Linked DNA regions of Homo sapiens: region 1 is linked to region 2. The links are contacts of gene promoters, found by promoter capture Hi-C in human tissues and cell types (Jung and others, 2019). All regions are on one chromosome and are shown on one strand. Each heading gives the region's core, a stretch centred on a gene start or on the middle of the fragment in contact. The rest is flanking DNA. Distances are from core to core; before and after follow the strand shown. Region 1 overlaps COL25A1 (collagen type XXV alpha 1 chain). Region 2 holds the start of COL25A1 (collagen type XXV alpha 1 chain).

Evidence for each region. Contacts are between HindIII fragments. The study calls those that stand out against the background at their distance.
Region 1: a fragment that was not itself captured here is called in contact with the fragment with the promoter of COL25A1 in region 2 in 1 of the 25 tissues and cell types used here (dorsolateral prefrontal cortex).

The regions. Positions count from the first base shown.
Region 1 is chr4:108,912,703-108,915,878 of GRCh38, forward strand. All of the region lies in intron 13 of COL25A1 (collagen type XXV alpha 1 chain), which reads right to left. Among named protein-coding and RNA genes, the nearest start is that of ETNPPL, 150 kb to the left of the region's middle. The HindIII fragment of the contact is 4,321 bases long and covers 1-3,176 here.
Region 2 is chr4:109,300,961-109,304,242 of GRCh38, forward strand. It overlaps COL25A1 (collagen type XXV alpha 1 chain), which reads right to left and starts at 1,698. Exons shown (of 38, transcript NM_198721.4): 1 at 1,209-1,698; 2 at 763-1,115. The coding sequence starts at 1,059. COL25A1-DT (COL25A1 divergent transcript) reads left to right here and starts at 2,075. Exons shown (of 3, transcript NR_160939.1): 1 at 2,075-2,367. RefSeq lists an enhancer at 1,770-2,552. The HindIII fragment of the contact is 11,543 bases long and covers 1-3,282 here.

The sequences.
Region 1 (3,176 bases), core at 412-2,911, 390 kb before region 2:
TATTGGATTTATTGTATCATTCACTGCATAGACTTGACTCAATGGCTTAAGCTTTGAAAGTCTGAGAGCTTCAATTTATCTATTCTCTAAATATACTTACAATAAAAATGCCATTAAAAATATGCTGTGAAGATTAATGTCAGTGAAGAACTGTGTTATCCATGTATAAGAGATAAAAAGGAATTTCAAATGTCATAACTATAAACTAATTAAAATTTAATGTTACTTAAAAATCACTTAGCTATTTGTGATGGATTCATAGTTGACACACTAATATCAATTTTTAAATTTATGTTATATTTGAAGTTTTAAAAATAACAATAAACTCTAGAAAGCACTTAAAATTGCACGAATCAAGATCATCTGATATTTATCTTTTTTTTTGGAAACAATCCCTATGACTCTGCAGGCCTCAGAAAAATTCTAGCTTGCATAGACAAAAAAAATTTCATTTTAATCCTGAAAATATTCAACATTATTTTTATAGTAATCAAGAGACAAGGATGTGAATTAAGAGGAGCAAAAAATGGGACTTTGTGTGGTCTCTGTCTCTAGCTCCTTTTTTTTTTTTTTTTTTTTTTAAGACGGAGTTTTGCTCTTGTTGCCCAGGCTGGAGTGAAATGGCATGATCTTGGCTCACTTGCAACCTCCGCCTCCAGGGTTCTCCTACCTCAGCATCCCAAGTAGCTGGGATTACAGGCATGCACCACCATGCCCCGCTGATTTTGTATTTTTAGTACAGACGGGGTTTCCCCATGTTGGTCAGGCTGGTCTCGAACTCCCGACCTCAGGTGATCCACCCACCTCGGCCTCCCAAACTGTTGGGATTATAGGCGTGAGACACCGCACCCGACCTCCAGCTCCTCTTTCATGGCATTTGCACAGTGTTGGGCACTAACTGCTATTCAAATAAATTGTCATAGTGATTATTTGTTCTTATGGATGCTAAGAAAGATGAAAATCAGGAAAAAGTAGAAAAATGCAGAGTTTTAATAACACCTTTTAACAGTTCAGATTTTTAAAAACCAACATCTAAGTATATAAACAAAAATTGTAGACAGCAATCTATTTTGCCAAAAAATTATTCACTATAAACATGGTTCTACTATAAAATTATTTTAAATAGCTCACATTTCTCCAGAGTATTTGAAGTAGGAACTAATTGACCAATATTCAAATATACATCACTTCATGTATGTGTGAGTGTGCGTTTGCGTGCATGCACTCATGCACACGCGCATGGTGGGGGAAAGAATAAATTATGGAGGGCAAATAAAATGTTAATTATATGTTTAAACCAACAAGATCTTCAGGAGAATTACATTATTTTTGTGTTCAATATAATTAGCCAAAGAAGAAATAGATAACATTTTATATTTTTAGGTAGGATTTGCTTTAGATCTGCCCTAACTGCTTGGTTGGTGGAAACAAGTCCAAATTATGAAAACATCAGCTTTCAGAATTGGGAACAGAGGATGCTAAAAGCTGGTTGCATGGAAACAAGACATGGGGGATGGGGGACTTTTTGTGTACTCATAGTATCTCTGAGAAACTTAGAGATAAATTGGTACAGCTTCTGCTCTCATTTTACAAATGAAGTCCCTTTGAATGCAGAGAAAAAAGGGATCCTTCAAAGGCTACACAAGAGGTGAAAGAGCACAGAGTGTTCTGATGCCAGGACAGGGCTCCTACATCAGCCCACTGGTGACTGTGCTTTCATAATAATGTGAAACATGTGTTTCTCTTTCTTGTATCTATAGCAGTGACATTCCAACTACCCAGTCTTTAAGAGCTGGGGACCTTAGTCCTTAGGGTCAGGGAGACAGCCAGGGGATAGAGAACACATTCTACCTCTATGTGTATTTCTGCATATTCATTTTCTTTCTATGAGGAATTCACCTGGCTTTTCCTCCCTGCTTGAATGTAAGTCTAAGGTTCATTTGCTGAAACTTTTTTTTTTTTTTTTTTTTTTGAGACAGGGTCTCACTATGTTGCCCACGCTGGAGTGCAGTGGCATGATCACGGCTCACTGTAACCTTGAACTGGGCTTAAGTGATCCTCCCACCTTGGCCTCCCAAAGCGTTGGGATTACAAGCATGAGCCACTGCGCCCAGCCTGCTGAAATTCTTAAGGCATGAGAATACTACTAGAGACACTTGACAGCATTTATTGGGCATCTATTACATAATATTCACTTTAGATATATTGTCTAATTAATACTACAAGGTCTGTCTCTATATTGTACACTGGAACCTTAGAAAGTTAAGTGATTGGCCCAAATGAGGACACATAGCATTCTCTCTCAGATGCAGAGACCACGCCCTTTTCTCTGTACCACACTACCTCCTACTTTTCACAAAGGGATGTTCTGTAGCCCTTCATAGGTTGTGATGCCAGAAGGGGCAAGATTGGAGTCTAATGCCATGCCACTGCATAAGCAGTCCTTTCTCCTAATACAGTCAGAAGAACTGAAAGACCATTACAAAAATAAGTATTCAGATTAGCAATCAAGGTGATCAAAATGTAAAAGATAATGTGTAGGAAAAACGTCACACCAAGTTTATGTGCTAAGGCCATCACCTATTTTGCCAACCTGAATGGATGGACAATGTTCTATGGGAAACAAAGCATTTTTGTCTTCTTTTTCTCTTTCTCTCTCTCTCCCTTTCTTTTTTATAAATAGAGACAGGGTTTCACCATGTTGCCCAGGTTGGTCTCAAGCTCCTGAGCTTAGGCAATCCTCCTGCCTTAGCCTCTAAAAATGCTGGGATTATTGGCATGGGCCACCTTTCCTGGCCAGTGTTTTCTTAAAATAGTATACTTTTCTTTCTTTTTTTCAAACATAAGAAAATAATTTTTTATTCCCTAGTTTTTATTTGCCATATTTCTTACTTTTTTCTTTTTAAGAGATAGGATAGGATCTCACTATGGTGCCCAAGCTGGACTCAAGCAATCCTTCTGCCTGAGCGCCCCCACCCCAAGTAGCTGGATATTATTTGCCATATTTCTGATGGCTTAGAAATTATATCCTCCCCTAACCACTGTCTGAAAACTTTTCTAAGCATCAAAAGTAATCTTTTGGAAAAAGCAAAATTGTAATGGAGAAGAAAATGTTTTCTCAAGACAGTTTAAGGATATTGAGGTGCTCTTACTAAAACAAAATTATTATGTCATTG
Region 2 (3,282 bases), core at 448-2,947:
TATTAGGTAAGCTGTGGCTTACCAATAACAGCCAATATTTTATACATGAAGGTCAACTGCTTTATTTATCATGCTAGGCTGCAACTACTGCCAAATAGGCTCCCGGCTAGGGTAAGGTTCCAGAAAACCCCCTTACTCTAGTCTAAAGGTACCCTTACACATAACATAGATTCCTCTCAACTCTCAATTCCAAGGGCTCTGCATTCATAAATACCCCGGCACTGCATCCTTTACCAAAAATAAAGCTACTTTAAAAAAAAAAAGTTTAAACTTTTAATATGAAAAGATTCAACGTGTGAAATTATTGATTTTAAATTATATATGACATTATTTTACATTTAAGAGTGATTACCTTTTTTATATATTAATAACATCTATGACCCTAACCATCTTACAACATGTAAAAGATTTAACAGATGCTATCTCTGCAAGAAATATTCTCTCCACAATTGGGTTTGACTTAGGACAACTAAAAAGAGATAAAATGCCCTTTCCGAACCCTTTTAGACCTTCCTATGTGTTTAACACGCAAACATTAAGAGAGAGTGAGGGAAGATTAGAGATAGGGATGGGGACATCAAGGGATGTGCACATATAAATATATGCTACAGTGAGCATAGATCCTTGGCCAACACATGCACGCGCGCGCACACACACAGCCACACCAAGTATGGGTACAGTAAGGGTAGCGGCTAGTCATGCACACAGAGTCACGCTTGTACAAGATGTTACCCACGTGCAAAATACCCCAGCCTCTCACACCTGAGCCAGAAGTCGCTCCACTTTCTCTTGCACCATAGTCTTGAGGTGATCCAGGGTATCAGGCAGCAGATGAATGGAAGGGGCCCCTTTGGCGGATTCGAGAGCGGCGATCCTCGCCTGGAGGTCGTTGGTTTTCACACCCAGGTACAGGCAAGACACCACGGCCACCACTGACAGGAGGGCCGCCAGGACGGCACACGGGGGCATGGTCCGGGCACAATGCTGTTCGGCAGGGGTCGGGTCCTCGGATCTGGGCTCCCGGCCCCCTCCTTTCCCTGCGTGCTTCTTCAGCAGCATCGTGGCGGGGTCGGCCGTCTCGGCTTCGCTTCCCACCCTCTACACCTCAAATAATCCTAAAAGGAAAGAAAAAGGTCGATTCCTCCAAAGTTCAGTCCCTGTGGCTGCACAACTAGTTGGTGGAGTCAAGCCCACGAGCGGATACGGACCCCTGCCTTGCTCAGCGTCCAGACCCGCAGGCGTGCACCATCCCCGCTTTCTTCTCTCCTCCCAGCTGGAAGTGAAAAGCACCCTCCGTCCGGGGACTGGGTGGCGGTGGGGTAAAAAGCAAGACGAAACCCACCCAGACAGCTCTTCCGACTCCCAGAGGACCGACACCTCTTTCGAGGGCCCCAACAGTGGCCGCTCAGGGTCCGAGGGCAACGGCCGAGGCGCCACGCGGGGCCGCGGCTCGCCCTGGCCACGGAGGACCGGACCTGTTGCGCCTCTGTGAGTTTGCCTTATTTCTACCTACTCGGTGTCTTTCGGCACGCCGACCTGTTTCCCACCTGCATTCAGTTCAAGGCAAAAAGGCTGTGAGAGCACGCTACAGCGCAGCGCGAAAGGGGCGACTAAGGTGGAGAAGAGAGAGGAAAACGAAATAAACCCAAGGAACCAATGCTACTCGCGAAGCCGAAGTCGCGGCTGCCCGAAGGATCTCCGCAGCCCCGCGTGCGCGATCCTTAAATACCCTTCGCGATGCTCGCGTGAGTGTGTGTGTGAGTGTGTGAGTGCGCGCGCGCTCCGAGCACGACGTCCCTCCCCCGACCCCCTCCCGGCGCCCGGCGTCCGGCCTGCCGCTCCCGCTGCTGCGCGCCCCCCTTCCGAAGGCAAAGCAGGAGCCCGCCTTATTATCATAATGTATTCACCTTGGCCCAGCCCGCGGGCCGGCCCGGGGAACCCCCAAGGGAGGCGGGAAGCTTGGGTGGGAGCGGGGCAGGAGGTCTGTTATTAGCATAATGTATGCAAATAGCTGGAGCGGCCACCGTGATTGGAGAGGAGCCTGGCGACCCCTCCCCCTGCGCGGAGTAACTTCAGCATCTCCGAGGGCCACCTCTCTGGCCTGGGCCGGGGCCGAAGCGGGGTCGGCTGCGCAAGAGGCGGCAACTTTGGCTTATACTGACTCAGCCCAGCGCCCCCTTTTTATCCCACATAAAAATGGAGAAATGGCCTCCGGGAGGAAGATGTGAAGCGGCACGCTCTATCTCTACTGATCTTCACTCAAAAGCAGCCGCAGGAGCTGTTGCTATCTCGCTGTGGTGCAGCGCTTTTCCCTCCTCCCTCACTTTCCCACATGCCCAGAGGCAAAGTGTCTGGCCGACGTCTGAGGTACATTTCCCCACTTCCCTTCTCTTCCCACTGCAGCCCTCAGATTGTCCAACGAGGGGAAGTTTTCCTTCCCCTCCCCCAGTTTCCTTGTCTTGACGGCACTGAGTCTCCTCCCAGCTCTGTATTCCTAGTCTGTACTAGGGTGCTAATGTGTTTTCCTGATTCCCTGTTTTGCGGGATTGGAAAAGGGAGTGTTGAGGTATACACATTTCTCAGGATTTAGGAAAGGAATGAAGAATGAAGTCAGTTTTTCCTTTTACCTGACTCTTAATGCTGTTCTCTCTGGATCAAATTACAAGGTCTCTAATGGGATTTTGGAAAGTTGGTAACAAGTAGCATTTGACATCTAATTGACTTTGGGGAAAACAGAAATCCCACCTCTTATTCCAAAGAGTTCCTTCTTATCTCCCTATAAAAAAAAAAACCATATATTTTTCCTATTCTCCTTAATTAAGCTAACCTGAAGTCGTTGCTTACTATTGTAAACAGTCAACAAAATACTTCACTAAGTTGGTCTTTCACATGTGTAAACGGATATTGCTAGGTGTGAAGCAAGGTAAGGAAATAACAGCATTAGAGGAAGAAAGAGACTAACATTGGAGGAAAACTCAATGAATTTGGCTATAAAGTCAAAACCATAATTCATTTGTATTACACAGTGGTTCTCAAAGGATGGTCCTAGACCAATAACATCAGCATCACCTGAGAACTTGGACATTAAAATTCTAGGTTCCTACCACAGATCTGAATCAGAAACTGCTACTACCACTACTGAAATAATAATTTTAAAAAAAACAGCAATCTGTGTTTTAACAAGCCCTCCAAATGATTTTGATATATACTACTAAAGTTTGAGAACCACTGGTATAATACTTTCCAAAATATTTTCAAATACTTTTTGTATTTGAACCTCAT